5 separate regions of the Homo sapiens genome follow, and all the other regions are linked to region 4. The links are contacts of gene promoters, found by promoter capture Hi-C in human tissues and cell types (Jung and others, 2019). All regions are on one chromosome and are shown on one strand. Each heading gives the region's core, a stretch centred on a gene start or on the middle of the fragment in contact. The rest is flanking DNA. Distances are from core to core; before and after follow the strand shown. Region 1 overlaps MBTPS1 (membrane bound transcription factor peptidase, site 1). Region 2 holds the start of SLC38A8 (solute carrier family 38 member 8). Region 3 overlaps HSDL1 (hydroxysteroid dehydrogenase like 1). Region 4 holds the start of WFDC1 (WAP four-disulfide core domain 1). Region 5 overlaps LOC124903736 (a long non-coding RNA gene).

The links. Contacts are between HindIII fragments. The study calls those that stand out against the background at their distance.
Region 1: a contact is called between a fragment that was not itself captured here and the fragment with the promoter of WFDC1 in region 4, in 2 of the 25 tissues and cell types used here (H1 embryonic stem cells and IMR-90 fibroblasts).
Region 2: the fragment with the promoter of SLC38A8 here is called in contact with the fragment with the promoter of WFDC1 in region 4 in 3 of the 25 tissues and cell types used here (H1 embryonic stem cells, mesenchymal stem cells and ovary).
Region 3: a fragment that was not itself captured here is called in contact with the fragment with the promoter of WFDC1 in region 4 in 3 of the 25 tissues and cell types used here (IMR-90 fibroblasts, dorsolateral prefrontal cortex and mesendoderm cells).
Region 5: a fragment that was not itself captured here is called in contact with the fragment with the promoter of WFDC1 in region 4 in 8 of the 25 tissues and cell types used here (H1 embryonic stem cells, bladder, dorsolateral prefrontal cortex and 5 more).

Annotation. Positions count from the first base shown.
Region 1 is chr16:84,078,889-84,082,626 of GRCh38, forward strand. It overlaps MBTPS1 (membrane bound transcription factor peptidase, site 1), which reads right to left. Exons shown (of 23, transcript NM_003791.4): 11 at 2,859-3,020. Among named protein-coding and RNA genes, the nearest start is that of MBTPS1, 36 kb to the right of the region's middle. The HindIII fragment of the contact is 6,670 bases long and covers 1-3,738 here.
Region 2 is chr16:84,040,788-84,044,798 of GRCh38, forward strand. It overlaps SLC38A8 (solute carrier family 38 member 8), which reads right to left and starts at 2,008. Exons shown (of 11, transcript NM_001080442.3): 1 at 1,764-2,008; 2 at 1,182-1,372. The coding sequence starts at 1,370. RefSeq lists enhancers at 762-1,466, 1,467-2,170, 2,171-2,875, 2,876-3,579. The HindIII fragment of the contact is 13,701 bases long and covers 1-4,011 here.
Region 3 is chr16:84,137,734-84,141,862 of GRCh38, forward strand. The region is part of intron 1 of HSDL1 (hydroxysteroid dehydrogenase like 1); the gene reads right to left. Among named protein-coding and RNA genes, the nearest start is that of HSDL1, 5.4 kb to the right of the region's middle. RefSeq lists an enhancer at 1-200. The HindIII fragment of the contact is 4,844 bases long and covers 1-4,129 here.
Region 4 is chr16:84,292,859-84,297,006 of GRCh38, forward strand. It overlaps WFDC1 (WAP four-disulfide core domain 1), which reads left to right and starts at 2,020. Exons shown (of 7, transcript NM_021197.4): 1 at 2,020-2,257. The coding sequence starts at 2,114. It overlaps LOC124903734, which reads left to right. Exons shown (of 6, transcript XM_047435022.1): 5 at 659-777; 6 at 1,475-1,980. The coding sequence ends at 1,980. The HindIII fragment of the contact is 18,601 bases long and covers 1-4,148 here.
Region 5 is chr16:84,505,334-84,509,424 of GRCh38, forward strand. It overlaps LOC124903736 (a long non-coding RNA gene), which reads left to right. Exons shown (of 2, transcript XR_007065149.1): 2 at 2,013-2,346. Among named protein-coding and RNA genes, the nearest start is that of MEAK7, 2.7 kb to the left of the region's middle. RefSeq lists enhancers at 1-304, 1,914-2,414, 3,405-3,474 and silencers at 1,302-1,421, 1,405-1,641. The HindIII fragment of the contact is 9,061 bases long and covers 1-4,091 here.

The DNA.
Region 1 (3,738 bases), core at 597-3,096, 210 kb before region 4:
TGTGCGGAAGCCTGGTAGAAAGAATGGGCGAGTGGGAACTGACATGGTTTGGATGCTCGCCCCCTCCCAATCTCACGCTGACGTGTAATCCCCCATGTTGGAGGTGGGCCTAGTGGGAGGGACTGGGTCCTGGGGGAGACCCCTCATGGGTGGTTTAGCACCATCCCTCTGGTGGTAACTGAGTTCTCACTCAGCTCAGGCAAGATCTGGGTGTTTAACAGTCTGGGACCTCCCCGCTCTCTTGCTCCCTCTCTTGCCATGTGATGTGCTGGCTCCCCTTCACCTTCTGCCATGATTGGAAGCTCCCTGAGGCCTCCCCAGAAGCAGGTGCTGGTGCTATGCTTCCTGTACAGCCTGCAGAACCAGGAGCCAACTGAACCTCTTTTCTTTATAAATTACCCAGTCTCAGGTATTTTTTTATAGCAGTGCAAGAACAAACGAACACATCCTTAGAACCACAGTCATGTTTCACACACCCAATAACAAGTTATAATCAACGAGGATGTGGGGGAAATCTAAAAAGGAATACAAACACGAATAAATGAGTCCAACTGTATTAAAAAGACACCAAGGAAAGAATTAACCTAAGTAACTGAAAAAAACACTATAACTGTATTCTGTAGGGCCAAAGATAATGACGCACTGTCACAAATACTATATTCAAAAAACTCACAAGGACATGGGCTAGCAGTTCCAAAGCTGCTCAGTACGTATACACTACAACTAAGCAAATAAGCCAACATATTGTGGATAATGAGAGCCAGGCTTCTCACTGTTGGAGAATGGAGTTAGAAACAGAGGTAACATGACCATCTCTGTAAATAAGAAATAAATAAATAAATAGAAACAAGGATAGGGAAAGGCTGGAATGAACACTGAGATACTGGCTGGAACCTGGAGGTGGCATGAACTCATGTTTCCAGTACATACACAGATAGGCAGATACAGAAGCAGTCGTATGTGTCTGTGCACGTGTCCACACGTTGCCTAGCTCTGTCCGAAGAGCGCAGTAACCACTGTGAGCACAGCAGCTTGGAGCACCCCGAGTGCCCAGGTCTTGATTTCTTTAGAAGAGGCCATCAGCAAAGAGCTGCTTGGAGACAGAACTGATACCAAGGCTAGAGCACAGAGGTGCATGACAGGACATCCTGTGCTGCCAGGAAGACAGAAAGTGCTCAGAAAAGGCTGGACACATGCTGAAAACACACATAAGCCAACTAGATGGAGCTCCCAACAGCCAACTCGGGGACAATTTGAACGACCCACTAAATGATATTAATTATAATCCACAGAGTAAAATAAATATCTATGTGTCCACACTGATGTAAAGAACTGAATAAATAAATGGGACAGAAAGGACAGCTCTTCCTTCCAGGAGAGTTCCAATTAATCAATGTAAATGGAATGAAGGAAAAAGAAAATCATCACGTGTCAAAGTTGTCAGGAGTAATCACCAAAGGCAAGAACCATCAAGGCATGCTAACATGAGTGAGTGGAAGTATGTGACGAAACAAGGCCATCTCGAAACATGCCCCCACAAGACACTGAGAAGTCACAAAGGAAACACGGGCTGCACAGTGGAGACACCTGGCAGGAGCCACCTCTGGCCCCACAGGGCCAGCAGCTCAGGTCTCCTCTGCAGGACACTGCTGGCTGACACCCGCAGCTGCCACCCTCAGGTCCTCACACGTCTGTGCCAAGGCCACGCTTCCCCTGGGGCTGCTCCCAGCCAATGACTAAGCACACAGGAGGCACCAGGGCAGGCCCATTCTGGGGGGACACAGGACTCCTCCAACAGGCAATCTGGTTCAAGGATTTCCCATCAGCCAAAACTTTTTCAGGCCTGTGCGAGCCTCTTCCTCCCCAGTCCTCCTAACTTTTCGGTGTCAGATCAGCACTGCAGTTCCTGCCTATTCCCACACCCTTCCCTTTATCCTTCAGAGGCCCTCACTCCCCACATATCTTTTGAACATGTAATCCTAGCTTGACGTCTGCTTCTTGGAGGACCCAGACTGACAGACCACATTAATCAAATGATGAAAATGAATACCCCCAATAACAAGATGAAGGAAAACGGAGGAACCGTCTGTGATTAGAGGAAACCAAGAAGACAGGACAATGAAATCCAATGTGGGATCCTGGACTGGATCCCAGAGAATGGACCTGTGGGACAATGGGCGGAATCTGCGTGAAGCCTGCAGGTCAGTCAGCAGTGCTACATCAAGGTTCATTTCCAGACTCTGACGCTCATACTGAGGTTATGGAAGATACTAAGGTGAGGGAAAGCTGGGTGAAGGACTCAGGGGTTCTCATGAACTATTTGTGAAACTTTGCTGTAAATCTAAAATCATTTCAAAATAAGGGTGAAAACAAAGCAGGGCCCAGGCCGGACGGGAGTACCACAGGAGCTGGCGAGATGTATGTGGTCTGCAGGTGAATTACAGCACAGTGTCAGTGTTTGTATGACAGTTTTAACAGCTGTACTCCACTCATCTGAAATGGTGGCATCAGGGGAAACTGGGCAACCTTGTAGGACAACTCTCTCCTATTTCTGCAAAATTTCTGTAAACCTAAGATTATTTCAAGAGTCTAAGAAAGTAAACAACAAAAGCAAAAAAACCACTCAGAAATCATTACTTTTAACCATTTATATTAAAGATCACATCAGTAAGCGAAAGCAGCTACCAGTTCTGCCAGCAGCACCCTGTAGAAGCAGCAGCAAAACCTCTCCAAGCACCCCGAGAATTCTGTGCTTAGTCATCATTTTCTGTTTTGAGGCTTGTATTTTGTGCAGAGGGAAAATTCGCCCAGAGCCCAGTGAAGGAGAGAAAGACCCATCGGCAGGGCGGTGCACTGACCTTGCCTGTGGCTTGTAGCTGTTGAGGATCTGATAGGCTCTGAGCAGATCGAGCTTGCCGTGGCCTTGCTCAAACATGTTGACCCCGGGGAGCCTCCGGGCTGACGCGATCAGGGCCTGCTTCATACTGGCGGGATTCACCAGCTCACGCTTCTGGACTGTGCTGGAGGAAAAATCAAGAATTGCCTATTTTCTCTCAGTAAAAGAATGGAAATTGGACCACTAAAACCTAACCTACAAACGTGCACACAAGAGGCCTGCAGTCTTGTTTAGTATCCAACAGGTGCTTGTCTGGCACAGCCTGCATGAGAGAATGAGTGCACACTCATCTCTGTACCCAATCCAGGACTGACCACTCCGCAACCTTCTACGGGACCCACTTATGCTAAATGCATCAGTAACACATATTTTTGTGATAATTCAACTAAACAACCACATAGGCTGCAGAAGGCATGAATGTATAGGAGGTACTGACTCCTCTGGGGAGAGGAAGCCTGCTGGTCACAGGAAGAAGATGCCATGGGACACCGCCTGGCTGGGAGAAGGAGGAGCACATTCAGATCCTGGGGAGGGGCCACGACACAGGACTAGCAGGAGGCACAGGTCTGAGTGAGGACCGCCGCCTCCAAAGCCAATCCTTGCCTTTTTGTTTCCAGATTGGGAGGCTTGTCTGGGATGAGCCACCCTGATGGATGATGCCTTTCAGAACGACATAGACCTAAGGCCACCTTCAGTTTCACCATGAGAATGCATCTGAACAAGCTTTAACACACAGTGTGACCTGGCTAGGAACTTAGCCTGGTGATACTAGCGTTACAACATCCATTTTTGTGTATTTATGTATTATAAATACAAGTGAATTTTAATTCCTAAAATTGAGG
Region 2 (4,011 bases), core at 758-3,257, 250 kb before region 4:
ACCCTCCCGGCATGATCCACCATCTGAAGCTGATGACATGCATCTTGTCTGACTTCCCATTAAAACAAAGCTCCATGAGGACAGGGACCACACTGCGTCATCCATCCTAGGCCAGGCACGGGGCAGGAGCTCGGCCAACGCCAGGGGTGTCATGGGTTACACCCGACACTAGTTTCCAAACAGACCCGAAGAGCCTCAGGGCACACAAACGGTTGGAACTCAGCCATTATCCACCAGCTGCCGTAAGACGTGTGAGAAAAAGCCGGCCAAAGAGCTTACCACAAAATGCAGCAATTCATTCCATCAGCCAGCGGCAAAGGATCTTAGAAAATAAAGCTGTGCTCATCAGTGGCTCTCCCGCAGCAAAGAGAAGAGCGCGGCGTCCGCGCTTCCCCAAAAGGGAATTCTGGCTTTGCACCCGGCAGGCAGGAGAGCGGAACATCCGACACCAGGCAAGGCCGGCCCGGCTCTGTGTGGGGAGTGTGGGAGTGTCACACCAGTTTTAGGCTCAATCTGCACACAGGAGTCGAGCTTTGTTTTTGTGTGTTTAAGACAGAGTCTCACTCCGTCGCCCAGGCTGGAGCGCACAGTCTCAGCTCACTGCAACCTCCGCCTCCCAGGTTCAAGCGATTCTCCTGACTCCACCTCCTGAGTAACTTGGATTACAGGCGCCCGCCACCACGCCCCGCTAATTTTTGTATTTCCAGTAGAGACAGGGTTTCACCATATGGGCCAGGCTGGTCTCAAACTCCTGACCTCAGGTGATCCGTCCACCTTGGCCTCCCAAAGGGCTGCGATTATAGGCACGAGCCACCGTGCCCGGCCCAGCTTTAGTTTTTGAGCTAAGACCAGCAGGCAAGAAAGAGCAGCTGGCCAGGCAGGGCGCCCAGAGAGGTTCCTTCCCAGGTGAAATGCCCACTTCACAGACAGAGCTGCGATGCCTGTAGCTCCATCCCGGAAGCTGTGTATCAGATGCCACCAGCGCCCACGGGGGATATTCTCATCCCAGGGCTACAGTGGGATTATCTTCTCCCCTCATTAGCTGAGCGGGATAGAAAATAAAACCCCGAAGCTATAGCTTACAGGACACGCAACTCCGCAGAAGCAATGCGAGGAACCCCACCCAGAAAAGCCAAAGCCACCTCGTACCCGTCCCCAGGACTCACTTCCCGGGGACTTACCAGCTCCACCAGGAAGGCAGGGACCACTCCGCCCGCTTTGGAGAAGGCCCAGGGGAAGTTGAGCAGGCCAGCTCCCAGCGCGGACTTCATGAGGATGAAGACAGCGCCCATCGAGGACAGAGTGGCAGCAGCCGTGGCAGGGTGAGGCTTTTCTGGAAGGCCCCTGCTTCCTGGGGTCTGTCCCTCCATGGCTAGAGGCGGCAGAGGGGTGGAGAGAAAGCACAGTCTTCACGCTTTCCTCCCTAAGTTCTCGATATCCTTATTTGTCTCCCCAACTCAGTGAGAGCTCCCTGAGCCGCTCCTGCCCGCTTCCTTGGCGTCAGCTCCCCCTTTCCAAAGGGTGCTGCATGCATCTGCCCACGACTTCTAGTCCCCCTTCGTCTCCCATTCCCTACCCACATTATTCTCACTCCTGCCCTCCCACTAGACCCCAAGGCAACCTCACCCCTTCCCCCTCCCTCTCTTCTCCCAAACCCCCAACCTTCCTCATCCCCATCAATCCTCTCTCCCCCCATTCCCATCCACTCCCTTTGCTTCCAGCCAAACTTCTGTACAAACAGACCCCCAGTTCCTGGTCCTTACCACCAAATCCAACTTTTAAGGTGCCGGACAGTCTTTGGCTGTTGGGGATGGGACTCGGGCTTACTCCAGGTGGCTCAGTTGCATTTCTTGGGGCCAGAGGGGTGGGAGAAGCAAGATTCGAGCTTGGCCAGGGGTGAGTGAGTCATTAACTAAAGGAGCCCTAGCGAGTATGTGTCAGGGTCAGGCCCCTCCACACCTAAGAGGACAGCAACAAGTGGTCAGGGCCATGGGTCCCAAGAATTTGCAGCTTTTGAGACTTCTGACCTGAGCAAGGAAGGCTTAAGACTCCCGCCTCTCCCCAGCCCCCTGCAGGCCCGGCCCCGGGGGTGGAGCTTTCTCAGCTGCCCTGGAGGGTGACAGGGAGCTCAGCTGGGAGCCACACGGGGCAGGGGAGCAGGCACCATGATCTCATGGCAGCTTCTGCAGCGCCTCCATCCTCACATACCTCTCCAAGGTCCCCAGCCCAACGGAGGGGGCGTGAAAAGTGCCCTGAGCCCAGCCTCCTCCTCTGCAGAACAGGCTCCACCGTCCGCAGGTGCTGCCTCCTAGGTGGTTTCCTTTACCTCCTCCACCCAACTCCAGCAGGTGCGTCTCAGAGCTAATCCCATGCACACGAGTCACCTGAGACGGGGCTTGTTGAACGCTTGGGGGAGGCGGCGGCTGCTGGTCCCTAGGCCACGCTTGAGTGATGACACATCTCTCCAAACTGATACGGGGTCAGCTAAGGGGACAGAATATCGGAGACGGCCCCATTCCGGAAAATGCTGGCACATGCAGCTCAGATCCGGAATTTGACTGTTTATTCCTGGAACCCAGGCTCCCTCTCACCCGCATTCTCGAACTCCAGTTTGCATCAGAATCCACTGGAAGGCTTGTTCAAACACAGAACACCAGGCCCCAGCCCCTGTTTCTGACTGAGTGTCTCCGGGGCGGGGTCTGGGCACCTGCCTTTCTAACGGGTTCCCAGGTGACTCCAATGCCGCTGGTTCGGCCCCTCGCTGAGAAGCACTGCTTTCAGTTAAATATCCTCAATGCCCAGAACCCCTCCCCCCGCTGCATCTAATCAGTCCTTATCTGTCCGACACCAGATCAGCCCCAAAGGCTTCTTTTTGATGTGGTTTCTAATGGTCTCAACCCCCGACTCCTGTTACCTCCTGATGAGCAGGCAGGTTCCAAACTCTGTGGCTCACACAATGGCTGCTCCATAAATGCCCAACCAGCAGAGTCAGTGGCTGGCTTCTCAGCAGGGGCAAGTGAAAGGGAGCCGGGATTGCAGTCCCGGAGCTCAAGGCTGGACAATGACCCGGATGACATTCACGCCACTGCTGCATAAATGTGCTGCTGAGAACCTAGCCTGGATGAGTTCACGCGGATTCCTGAGCGGGTGTCCCCACTGTTCCCCCCAACTCCCACCCCGCACCAAGCAGGAACTCGGCTCAGGCAGGTGGAGCACGTGGCTCAGAGCATCACAGCTGGCAAGCAACAAGGCTGGGATTCACCCTGAGTCAGGCTCCTTTCAGAGGCTGTAATGTCACACGGCCTCCTGCCCCACAAGGACTCTGACAGTGCCTGAATGAGTGTGTGAGAGAATGAATGAATGAATGAATGAATACACAAATGCCAGAAAAGAGAGGAAAGGAAACGTCGTTTGATTGTTCCCCTGTATTACGCTCCTGAGGCTGCCAACACAGACTCAGGGGCTTAGAACAATAGAAAGTTATTCTGTCATGGTCTTGAAGGTCAGAAGTTGGTCAAGGTATCAATGGGGACATGCTCCCTCTGGAGGCCATGGAGGGCGGATCCTTCCTGCCTCTTCCAGCTCCTGGGGGCCTAGGCACTCCCTGGCTTGTGACTGCATTGCTGCCGTCTCTGCCAGCATCATCTTCCCAAGCTTTCTCCTCTGTGTCTTCTCTTTTCAGAAAGGCCCACCCAGATAATCCAAGATGATCCCATCTCAAGATCGTTACTTATATCTGCAAAGACCCTTTTTCCAAATAACGTTAACAGTCACAGGTTCCAGGGCGTGGCATAAATCTCTCTACTGGGGGCCACCATTCAGCCCACTACACCCCTCACATCTGAGATCTGTTTGAGTTCTCATCAGTCATTCAACAAACACTGAGTGCCTACTGTATGCAGGCACTGGAGCTCAAAGGTGAAAGAGAAGGCTCCTCCAGAGAAGGGGACGGTCCCGTGGGGAGCTCAAGAAGAGACAAGCCACCCAAGCCCAATGGGAGGACCGGACTAC
Region 3 (4,129 bases), core at 860-3,359, 160 kb before region 4:
TTTTTCTCATGACAAAAGAAATCAGTACTTTCCCCAGAGCCACCAAATTTCAAAAGCTCATAGCCTCTCACTGAAACTTTCAAAGGAATTTATCACACATTTAAGCCTAGAAGTCCACTTAGGCATATGTAGATAACAAGCCTCGTCAAAGTTACTTTAGGTATCTGACTAGTTACTGTTTTGTGGCTTGATTAGCGAAAGCTATTAACCTGTGCTACGGTCTGAGCGTTCCGCCCCACTCCCTGATTCTTGTCTTGAATCTTAACCCCCCAGGTGATGGTTTAGAAGGGAGGGCCTTTGGGAGGCGATCAGATAATGAGGGCTCCACCACCTTGATCTTGGACCATTCAGCCTCCCAAACTGCGAAAAGTAAGTGTTTGCTGTTTCCAAGCCACCCAGTTCATGGTATTTTGTTATAGCAGCTCAAAACCAACTAAGGCAGCCTGCAACCTAGAGAAACCCATGATGTGGAAAGCAATACTAAAACACAGTAAAATTCTGATTCATGTACAATCTACCTGCAAGAACTTATTCTAAAGCTTTATTTTCTTAAACAGAGAGTAGAATGGTGGTTGCTAGAGGTGGGGTCATGGGTGGGAAGTTTTGGTCAAAGGGGTATAAACTTTCAAATATAAAATGCATACGTCTGGAGAGCTAATGTACAGTACAGTGACCATAGTGAGCAATACCAAATTGTAGGCTTAAAATCTGCTTAGAGGGTAGATCTCAAGTGTTCTCACCATAAAGAAATAAAAAAGTAACTGAGGTGATGAATGTGTTAACTAATTTGGTTGTGGTGATCATTTCACAAAGTATACATATATCAAATCATGTTGTACACCTTAAATTTATATAATTTTATTTGTCAATTATACTTCGATGAAGTTGGAAAAATATAAAATAATTTAAAAAAATTTTTAAGCTTTGTTTTCTCATCTCTGCAGAAAACTAAAACATCTGTGAACAAAACAAAACCACAACTGTCCCCAAACTAGGAAAAGAAGAGCAAGTCCCTATTATCTTTTAAGCATTTTCTACTTCTACAGGGCAGGAGTCATCAAAAACCTACAGGAAACGTTACAACTACAAAAGCGTCACGGGACAATTATGGTCAAAACTGCAAGTAGCAAAGTCACCTCTTCAAAGCACCACTGCTGTGGCCTGTAACATGATCCCACTCCACAGTGAAGGGGACTCCACCTAGCAGTGTAAAGGGCAATCAACTCAAATAGAAAAACCTTCATGTACCAAGAGTTCTGGGAGGAAAGTCTTGGCTGAAACATGGACATTACCAAGCTATCCAAATGCGTGTGACGTGGGGCGGGTGGTGAAAGAACACAAGGCAGACTGGCCAGGGTTTTAAAGAAGACAAAGCAAGCAGGATGGAAAAAAAGACAATCAAAGCATTAGCGAACGACAGTGTGGTGGGCACAGTAATGGCCTCCAGGGATATCTACAGCCTAATCCCCAGACCCTGTAAATACGTCACCTTATGTGGCCAAAGGGACTCCGTAGATGTGACTGAGTTAAAGACTCCGAGCTGGGGAGGGTGGGTCCAATGTCATCATGTGTCCTTGTAAGGGGGGCAGGAAGATCAAAGAGAGAGAGCCATGTGACTACAAAGGGAGAGGTCAGAGAGAGCTCGAGTTGAGGGTGCTCTGTGCTGCTGGTTTCGATAATAGAGAGAGGGGTGGGTCACCAGTGAAGGACGGGGGGTGGCCTCTAGAAGCTGGCAGAGGCAAGGAAAAGGATTCTCCCCTGGAGCCTCCAGAGGAACACAGCCCTGCTGACACCTTGACTTTAGCGCAGTCACAATGACTTCAGATTCCCATCTCCAGAAGGAAGAGACATCTGTGTCATTTTAAGCCACTACCTTTGTGGCAATTTGTTACATCAGCCACAGGGGATAAGGATAAACAGTGGGAGGAAGGGATGGATGAACAGTCAGTTCAGCTTTCAGGACAGCGAAGAGACAAGCTGAAAACTCTGCAACCTCCCTTAAGCCAAAACCACTATGTGTATTCAGGAGCCAGAAAGTCTCAGAGGTTCCTGCCATCTTTGACTGACCAGGGTAGACCTGAGGTCCTCCTCCTCACCAGCTGGGATTATCCAGCTTTTCAGTAAGGCTCCAGGGCGATGGCTGTTTTCATTGATGAAAACATTTTTCCAAATAAATCTTAATTTTTTCAGAGTGTGAATCTGTCTTGTGCTCAGTACTCCAAATCCTCTGTTCTTCCTGACGTTTCAAGTCCCATGTCTTCTCCTCCGTTCAATCACTTCCTAACAAGCACCAACAACATGTCAGCCCTGGGGAGAAACTTCCCTTCCTGTCCCTTCCCTTCCCAGGCCGTGGCACTGCCCCCACCTCTGAATTCCTCTCCACCTCTCTTACCCATGTGGCACTTAGCACACACTGCTTTGGATTCTATTTAAACACTCAACTTGCTTATATCTTGGTTTCTTGGTTGTCCAAGGAGAGCACAGGCCTCTGGAGGGCAGGAGATGTATAGAAAACGAATTTTTCTGTAACTAAAAGAAATTTTTGTTTTTAGGCCGAGTCTTGTTCTGTCTTCCAGGCTGGAGTGCAATGGTGCAATTTCTGCTCACTGCAACCTCCGCCTCCTGGGTTCAAGCGTTTCTCCTGCCTCAGCCTCCCGAGTAGCTGGGACTACAGGTGCCCTCCACCATGCCCAGCTAATTTTTGTATTTTTAGTAGAGATGGGGTTTCATCATGGTGGTCAGGCTGGTCTTGAACTCCTGACCTCAAGTGATCCACCCACCTCGGCCTCCCAAAGTGCTGGGATTACAGGCGTGAGCCACTGCACCTGGCAAAAATGTTTAAATATATACAAAAGTATGTAAAACCTATTATGCACAGTTCAAAGAATAATAAAACAGCCACTTAGCCACCAGCCTACTTAACAAAACCAGTGTCGTGGAAGTCCTGTATGCTGTTCCTCTGATTACAGCCCCTCCTCTATCCTGGAGGCAGCCTCTCTCCTAAATTCTGGGGTAGTCACTCCCTGACTCTTTTAACAAAACAGCTGTATACCCCAAGCATGTATTCTGAAACAGTAACAGTATTGCTGGCCGGGCGCGGTGGCTCACGCCTGTAATCCCAGCACTTTGGGAGGCCGAGGCGGGCGGATCACGAGGTCAGGAGATCGAGACCACGGTGAAACCCCGTCTCTACTAAAAATACAAAAAATTAGCCGGGCGCAGTGGTGGGCGCCTGTAGTCCCAGCTACTCGGGAGGCTGAGGCAGGAGAATGGCGTGAACCCGGAAGGCGGAGCTTGCAGTGAGCGGAGATCGCGCCACAGCACTCCCGCCTGGGCGACAGAACGAGACTCCGTCTCAAACAAAAAAAAAAACAGTATTGCTAAGTTTCGCCTGGTTTTGAACCTCACATAAAGGAACCACACCACATGGACCCTTTGGTGACTTGTTTCTTTCACTCAACATCATTCCCGAGACTCATCCATGCCCCTGCAGCTATATAGTCCATCCTCCTCGGCAGCTGCACAGTATCTCACGGTTCAGATGCACTGCAGTTCACAGGTCCCCCTGCTGCTGGTTCAGATACACCACGATTCACAGGTCCCCCTGCTGCTGGTTCAGATACACCACGATTCACAGGTCCCCCTGCTGCTGGTTCAGATACACCACGATTCACAGGTCCCCCTGCTGCTGGTGCTAGGCACGTGCACTGTTTCTGCTGGTTTTGATTTACAGTTAGGAACAGTGCTGCAGGGAGCGCTTGTCCCCATCTCCTGCACACCTGTGCAAGAGTTCGCAAAGGGATTTGCCCATGGTTTAACTGCTGGTCCACATGCATTCCACTGCCAAATGCTTTTGCAAAGCGGCAGAACCCATTCACACTCCCGCCAGCAGCAGGTTCGTGCCACTCCTCAATGTCACTGGCTGGTAGCGTCCAAAGCTTCACCTTCTGCCAACAGGGTGGCTGTGAAATGGTATCTCATTATGGTTTTAATTTACATTTCCCTGGTTACTAGTAAGGCTGCAGTCCTTTTTATATGTATGTGCTTTCTGTGTTTTGTAATCTATGAAATGCCCGTTCCTATCTTTTGTCCTTTCCTTTTTTTTCTCTCAGAATTGTAAGAATTCTTT
Region 4 (4,148 bases), core at 770-3,269:
ATGGTGAACTTAAATTTTGCATTGCTCACTGGGCAAGTGTCTTAACCTCTCTGTGCATGGGATCCTAGACAGCACCTGCTTATAAGGCTAATATGAGACCTAAAAGCATTAAAATGCAGGAAGTGCTTCAAACATTGCCGAACACACAGACTGTATGGCTTTTAAGGTTTTTTTTTTTTGATACAGGGTCTTGCTCTGTGACCCAGGCTGGAGTACAGTGGCGCCATCACAGCTCACTGCAGCCTCAACCTCCCACGCTTAGGTGATCCTCCCATCTCAGTCTCCCAATTAGCTGGGACTACAGGTGTGCATCAGCACGCCGGGCTACTTTTTTTATTTTGTATTTTTTGTAGAGATGAGGTCTCACTATGTTGCCCAGACTGGTCTTGAACTCCTGGGCTCAAGGCATCCTCTGCCTCCCTAAGTGCTAGGATTACAAGTGTGAGCCACCGTACCCGACCTACACAGACTATATGTGTTTGCCACTATTGTCATTCACTAAAAGGCCAAGAGGGGTTGATGATACCTGCCCAGGGCATTCTGAAGGCTGTGCTGGCCAGGAGGTGGGGGGTGAGGGTCCCCAGGGAGGGAGGAACCAATCTTTCTGGAGCACTCACTCTGTGCAAGTGCTGGGCACAGCTGGCACCCTCTCCTGTAGCCCCACATCGATCTCAAGAGGCAGAGACTTTCACATGCCCATTTCACAGATGAGAGAACTGAGGACCATGAGCAAGAGGCTTTCCAGCATCTCGCAGAGGCTGAACTGGGATCAGGCAGGTGCGTCAAGCCTAGTGCTTGGGTCCCTTCTGCTTCGCCTAGGGGGGTGCCACAGGGTCTGACCTACCTGGGTTCCAGCCTCCTCTCTGCTGCTGTTGCATGACCTCAGGCAGCCCCCTCTGTTTCCTCATCTGTAAAGCGGGCATCAAAACAGTGTCTGTTTTGGGGCCGGGTGTGGTGGCTCACACACCTGTAATACCAGCACTTTGGGAGGCTGAGGCGGGCAGATCACTTAAGGTCAGGAGTTTGAGACCAGCCTGGCCAGCATGGTGAAACCCAGTCTCCACTAAAAATACAAAAATTAGCCAGGCATGGTGGCACATGCCTGTTATCCCAGCTACTTGGAAGGCCGAGACAGGAGAATCGCTTGAACCCGGGAGGCAGAGGTTGTAGTGATCTGTGATCACACCACTGCACTCCAGCGTGGGTGACAGAGCAAGACCCGTCTCGAAAAACAAAACAAAACAAAAAACCAGTATCTGTCTTGGAAGTGCTGAGAACAGACAAGGGAATATGAAGTTTGTGAAATGTTGAGCCCGCTGTGCTACATTCCTGTAAAACACACACGTGCACATGCACACCCACGTGCACACACGCATACACATAAATGCACATGTGCAGATACACCGGCTGACAGTGACAGCACACTTATGTGTGTGAAATGCTTTATGTGCTCAATTTCTTTTAAATCTCACAGGAAACACACGCTATGAGGAACTACCCACATGCCCACATCAGGCAGGAGGACCCCGGCGGGTGCAAGGGTGGAAGTCGTCTCTTCATGGCTGCACCCTTGGCCAGTGCCAGTCCAGCAGCCTCTTTCAAAGAAGCTTTTATAGGCAGATAGTTTGTCAGCCCAGCTCGAAATGTGAACAAGGTAGCAGCCGAGCCCCCACCCATCCGGCTGCACTCCCCTGCATGTCCAGCCCCGAGCCCTGTGTCAAGCACACCTCCTTGGGAGGAGACCGCCCCAGCCTGCAAGGAAGTGCTCATTATGGAGAGTGGAGAGTGACAGGCCACTCCCGGCCACGTCTCCAAGCAAGCCGGTGCCCCCTCCTCCTGCTGCCACCGCCCACTGAGCTGCCTGGGCTGCAGACGCCCTGGTTGGAGCGTCTGGGGCCAGATGTTATAGGGCAAGCTAAAAATAACCGGGCAGGCCAGCCACCATCGAGGAAGGGGCATGTGCTGGACGCGGACACATGATCCGAGGGACCCTGCTGGGTGGAACTAAGAAAGTCCAGCAGACTGTGCACGCTCCTGTCCCCACTCACAGGCCCACGCAGCGAGGGGGGCCCCTCTTCTGTGTGCGTCTGGAAGGTCGCTGCCCAGGGAGGAAATGCCTTTAACCGGCGTGGGGCCGGGCAGCTGCAGGAGGCAGATCATCCGGGCTCTGTGCCTCTTGCTACTTCTCCTCCACGCCGGCTCTGCCAAGAATATCTGGAAACGGGCATTGCCTGCGAGGCTGGCCGAGAAATCCCGTGTAAGTGCCTGGGATGGGGAGGCTGGGGCAGCCTGTGTGGGTGGGAGTCAGCCTTGAGGAGAGGCGATCCCTAGACACTGCCTTCTCCTGTAAGTGCTCCCCCAAAACGTGGCAAGGCAGGCGTCTTCCTATCCGTGTGTGTCTGAGTTGTGTGGTGGGCAGATGGGGCTCACCCCCAAAAAAGGACCCTTATCTGTGAATCAAGAGGCAAAAGACACATCACAAATGTGCCAAAGAATCGTGCCTTACTTTTGCCTTGTTACAAAAGTATGCTTGCTCCTGAAAGACAGCATCTCATTTCGGAACCCCAGGATTTAAACGGAGCATTCCGTCTCCCTGATCAGTACCAAATGTTTGTGAAATACACTTATGCATTCATGTGGTTGTTTATTCATTCAGCAAACAGAATGAATACACTCTGTTAAACAGAATTTAGCAGAAACCGCTCTGGGGAAGGCACTCTGTGGGGTCCTGTGGATACAAGATAAAGGAGGTACCAGCCCCCATCCTCAAGGGTGGCGTGGCCGAGGTGCAGAGGCAGTTGGGTGACAAACGATGGCAGTACAAAGAGAAGGCATGAGGCAGTGAGTGGCAAGAAACACATGCCCTGGGGCCAGATGTCTGGGTGTGAATCGGGCTCTGCTGCTCATTAGCTGCGTGGCTTCTCTCAGGCAAGCTGCTTGACGTCTCTGAACCCCAGCAATCTCATCTGCAAAAGACAGAGGGATGCATTTCTTCACACAACTATGTCTGGGTCGCCACTGTTTACCAGGTACTGTCCTAGGCTGTGGGGATACAGGCCTCACATCTCTGCCTGGGGAACTCAATGGGGGGCTGGGGGCAGCAAAGAATAAATGAGAGAGATCTCATTTATTAGTATGTGCAGATTGCAAGTGCTGAGGAAGCAATAAAGCAGGAAGGGAACTAGGAGAGAGAATGGGGTGGAGGAGGCTATCATTTTTGGTTCCTCCCACCCCCCAGAGATCACAGATCCGCAGGGACGGAGTGAGCCAGGACGATATCAGCACACAGAGGGCTCAAGAAGGTAATGCTGGCACCCACAGCACCTGTGTGAGGATTGAATGTCTCAGTATGTAGAACGTCTTTGCAACATAGCAAGCTGGCAGTGCATCTTGGCAGCTTTCAATCAAATAATTGTGACTTTGTTTGGTGTTGCCTAACAGGGTAGCATGTAGGTTCCTTGGGGTAGGGCAGGGTTCTGTTTCACTAATGTGTGCCCCTGGTGCCTGCCATTAAGTTGACGCCTGGTACATTCTTGTGGGTGAATTATGAGCGGCTGCAGTGGTAGCACGGGATGCGTGTGCAGCTCTTCCCCAGGAGAGTCAGACAGGGTTTTTAGGGTTGGGGACAGTGGACCTGTGGCTTTAAAGGATAAATAGGAGTTTGCCAGCTGGAGAAGAGGGAAGGGAGAATGATTAATGACCCCAGGCATAGTGGGGTGCCTGAAACTGTATTGAGACAAATCTGGGCCTCCAGGGCTCATATTCTCCATGTTCGGCACATGCTCGTGGCGGGAGACAGGAGGACTTCGAGAAGTGGAAAGAGTAGTAGAGTGACATGATGAGGCGCTTGGAGAAGGGAAAGCTCATGTGAGATGGTGTAGTCACCTAAGGCTTCCTGGAGGAGGTGGAGACCTTGACTGGATCTTGGGGAAGGATTAGGAATTAGGAGGAGGAAGGAAATTCCTGGAAGAAGGCTCAGCATGAGCCGAGGCTCACAGGCAGAAGTGGTGCATCTAAGAGCTGCTTGGGAGACCAGACCTGGCCAGAGGGGAGGCATTGAGGAGGGGTGAGAGACTCTTCTCAGATTTTATTGACTCCTCCATGCTCTTCTCTGGTGCAACAGGATGATTTAACCCTCAACTGTAGTT
Region 5 (4,091 bases), core at 868-3,367, 210 kb after region 4:
CACTTCTTCAGCTCGTTCCTTCTCAAACCCACCGAAACCTGGTCCCGGGGGCCTGCTCACTACATCCGAGGTGCGCTTTGGGTCCTCGCAGGCAGCATTTGGCGCTTGGTGATCGTGCTCTCATCAGACCTCTCTCTTGGGCACCCCGGCGCCCATTCCTGGCCCTGGCTCGCTCGCTGTCCCTGGTGGTCTTCCCTGGGCCCTTCTGGCTTCTGCCCTGGAGTTTCTCGACTTCTCCCTACTCTCTCCACCCCACGCATCCTCCCTGGGGTCCACCTTCCTGCAGATTCAGCTCCCGCATGTCCATGGTACCAGTTCTCTCCCCTGCACGGCCTGCTGGTTTTCCAGCCTGGAAAACCGTGACTTCGCCCGCCAACGTCCGCTTGAGTTGGTCTCGAACTCCTGACCTCAGGTGATCTGCCTGCCTCGGCCTCCCACAGTGCTAGAATTGTAGGGGTTAGCCACTGCACCCGGCTGGTCACCTCTTATTCTTTAAGCTGGAACAAAAATAGAAGGCTTTCTGCCTGAGGGCAGCAGGCCTGGCTGGTGACAGTGCACAAGGTAGGGCCCCTCACCAAGACATTGCTCTGAGATCCAAGGCCAATGTCCCAGGAGAAGCAGCTCCACAAACTAACGCATCTACAGCCAGGGTACCCCCAGCTGTGGATGCCAATGACACGAGTAGCCCCAGCTCTTCACCTCGGCTTCTTAGAGTAGGTGCCTGTCACCTGCAGCCAGGGCTCCTGATGCCCAAGACACACGGGCCTTTAGACATGAAGGACTAGACCCTGTTTCCAGCCTTCACACCCCTGTACTTCCTGCACACATCAACCAGGTGTGTCTTTTTCAGTGCCATCCGAGGTAGTGGCATTTTTGACATAGCAACAGTTTTTTGTAGGCTGAGGCACACCAAGGGTGGACAGCAATGGTGGCCTCTCAGGTGCAGGTACTGGGGGGTCCGCAGGAGCAAACCGGAGCCGATGTGTCAGCCTGGGCAACATAGTGAGACTCCATCTCTACAAAAAATGAAAAGCTTGGCCGGGCGTGGTATGGCACACCCGTAGTCCCAGCTACTCAGGGAGCCGAGGCAGGAGGATCGCTTGAGCCTCAGAGGGCGAGACTGCAGTGAGCCGTGATTGCACCACTGCACTCCAGCCTGGGCAGGAAAGTGAGATCTTGTTATTAAAACGGTGAAACAAAATCCCCCAGAAAACCACAGAAGCAAATGCGGAGCGGCGCCGTTTGAGAGCTACCGAAGTGGCGCCACCTCGTGGCCATACCCTCCAGAAACAGCCTACACTCCAATCTGCCCACCTGCCTGGTTGGAAAGTTTCTGTTTTTGATGGAGTTTCACTCTTGTTGCCCAGGCTGGAGTGCAATGGCGCAATCTCGGCTCACTGCAGCCTCCACCTCCCAGGTTCAAGCAATTCTCCTGCCTCAGCCTCCCGAGTAGCTGGGATTACAGGCATAGGCCACCACACCCAGTTAATTTTTATATTTTTAGTAGAGACGGGGTTTCACCACGTTGGCCAGGCTGGTCTCGAACTCCTGACCTTAGGTAATCCACCCACCTCGGCCTCCCAAAATGCTGGGATTACAGGCATGAGCCACCGCCCCTGGTATTCTCAATTTTTTTAAATAAGAGATTTATATTGCTTGACATTTTGCATATAAAGTGAGACTCTTTTAAAAATATACATCATGCTATTTCAACAAGCTGGTGCTCCCGGGGATGTCCATGGGCTGTCCAACTGCCCCCGGGGCACCAGCTTCTGTTTTTTATGCTGACTTTGGGCACTGAACTCTCCTTGGCTCCCAGAGGTCCTGACCAGGCTGGTCCTGCCATCCACAGCGGTGCCTCTGCTAGCGACATCCCTGCCCAATTTTCCATGTCCAGCTTTGACACCTCCACAGAAAGGCTGAGCCACCACCGGGCCCCCATTGTGGCTGAGCATCCACTCTCTCTTCCCCATGTGCTCCTTGCCCCCGACTCCCCATCTCTGGAACCCAAGTTTGGGCTGCATGGACCACCTTCTGGGCCAGGCTGTTAGGAGGCCACCACCAAGCAGCAAACGCAGGAGCAGCCGTGCCCTGAGGAGGCACCACCAGCAGCCTCCAGCAGCACTCGGTGAGGCGGGCAACGATCCATCTGTGCCGCCAGCATGGAGCCGGAAGCCACGGCTGACTTGTGCAGTAGAGGAAGTCGAGTTCATTTTATTGAATTTATTCTCATTTTCAGTTTGAATGGCCACATGTGGCAGGCAGTTATTCTATTGTGCAGTGCTTGCCGGACCACATGCAACAATTCAAAATTGAAAATCAAAAATAAATGTACGGCTCACCCACTAGGATAGCTAACGTTTTTGTTTTGTTTTTGAGACAGGATCTTGCTCTATCACCCAGTCTGGAGTGCAGTGATGCAATCACGGCTCAGCTCACTGCAGCCTCGACCTCCCAGGCTCAAGCCATCCTCCCACCTCAGCCTCGTAAGTAGCTGGGACCACCGGCGTACCCCACCACACCAGGCTATTTTTATTTTTTGTAGAGATGGGGCCTCGCGATGTTGCCCAGGCTGGTCTCGAACTCCTGGGCTCAAGCGATCCTCACACCTTGACCTCCCAAAGTGCTGGGATTACAGACATGAGCCACCATGCCCGGCCTAAGAGGGCTAAAGTTTTTTAAATAGCGAGTGTTGGAGAGGAGGTAGTTCTCTCCTCCCGCACTGCTGGTGAAATGGTTCAGCCATGGGGGAAATCAGTCCTCAAAAAGTTAAACAGAGTTACCATAGGACCAGCAGTCCCACGCCTAGATACACCACAAAGCTGAAAACCTGTATTCAAACACACACTAGTACTGGATGTTCAAGCAGCACTGTTCACGATAGCCTAAAGTGGAAAAAAGATAAAAGCCCATCTGAAGAATGGATAGACAAGATATGGTATATCCACACAATGGAATAATATTTGGCAATTTAAAAAAAAGGAATGAACCACTGACACATTACAACGTGGATAATCCTTGAAAATCTGATGTTATGGCCAGGCGCAGTGGCTCATGCCTGTAATCGCAGCACTTTGGGAGGCCGAGGTAGGTGGATCACCTACCTCGGTGGATCACCTGAGCTCAGGAGTTTCAGACCAGCCTGGCCAACATGGTGAAACCCTGTCTCTACTAAAAATACAAAAATTAGTCGGGCATGGTGGTGGGCGCCTGTAATTTTAGCTACTCAAGAGGCTGAGACGTGAGAATTGCTTGAATCCAGGAGGCAGAGGTTGCAGTGAGCCAAGATCGCGCACTGCACTACAGCCTGGGTGACAGAGTAAGACTTTGCCTCAAAAAAAAAAAAAAAAAAAAACTGTGGTTACGTGAAAGCAGCCAGACACAAAGGACCACATATTGTAGCTTTGATGTAAAATGTTCAGAAAAGACAAATTTAGAGACAGAAAGTAGATTGCGGTTGCCAGTGCTGGAGCGTTAGGAATGAGGAGTGACTGCTAATAATGGCTCTGGGGTCTCCTTCAGGGGTAATAAAAATATTTTGGGACTAAACAGAGGCAATAGTACAGCAATTGTGAACGTATTATCCTCAATGTCATGGAATTATACACTTCAATATGCTTAATTTTATGCGATGGGAGTGATACTAAGATTTTTCTTTTTTTTTTTTTTTTTTCAAGGAAAGTGCACAATCTTTTGAGGCCTCACACAGATGGTGGTGTGAAAGGGTCAAGGCTGTGGAGGCCTGCTAGAGGGCCGAGTTCCATTTCCCCTTAGAGTGAGTGCAGGGTCAGCCTCTCAGGGCTCGGGGGCTTCAGTGGCCCTGCCTCGGAGAGCTCCAGCCAATGGCCATGTCACGCGTGAGGCAGCTGAGGGGCCAGGGCAGCAGAGCAAGGTCTGTTGCCAGGAACTGACTGCCCTGCCTCCCAGCAGCAGGTCAGAGGTGGGGCATCTGGGACAGGTGGCCACAGCAGCCTGGAGACATCGCAGAAGGAGACCTTCCGTAGAACACCAGGAGCCCAGCAGTGAGGGGCTACAGGACCAGGACCCAGGGTGAACCAGGACCCAGGGTGACCCAGGACCCAGGGTGAACC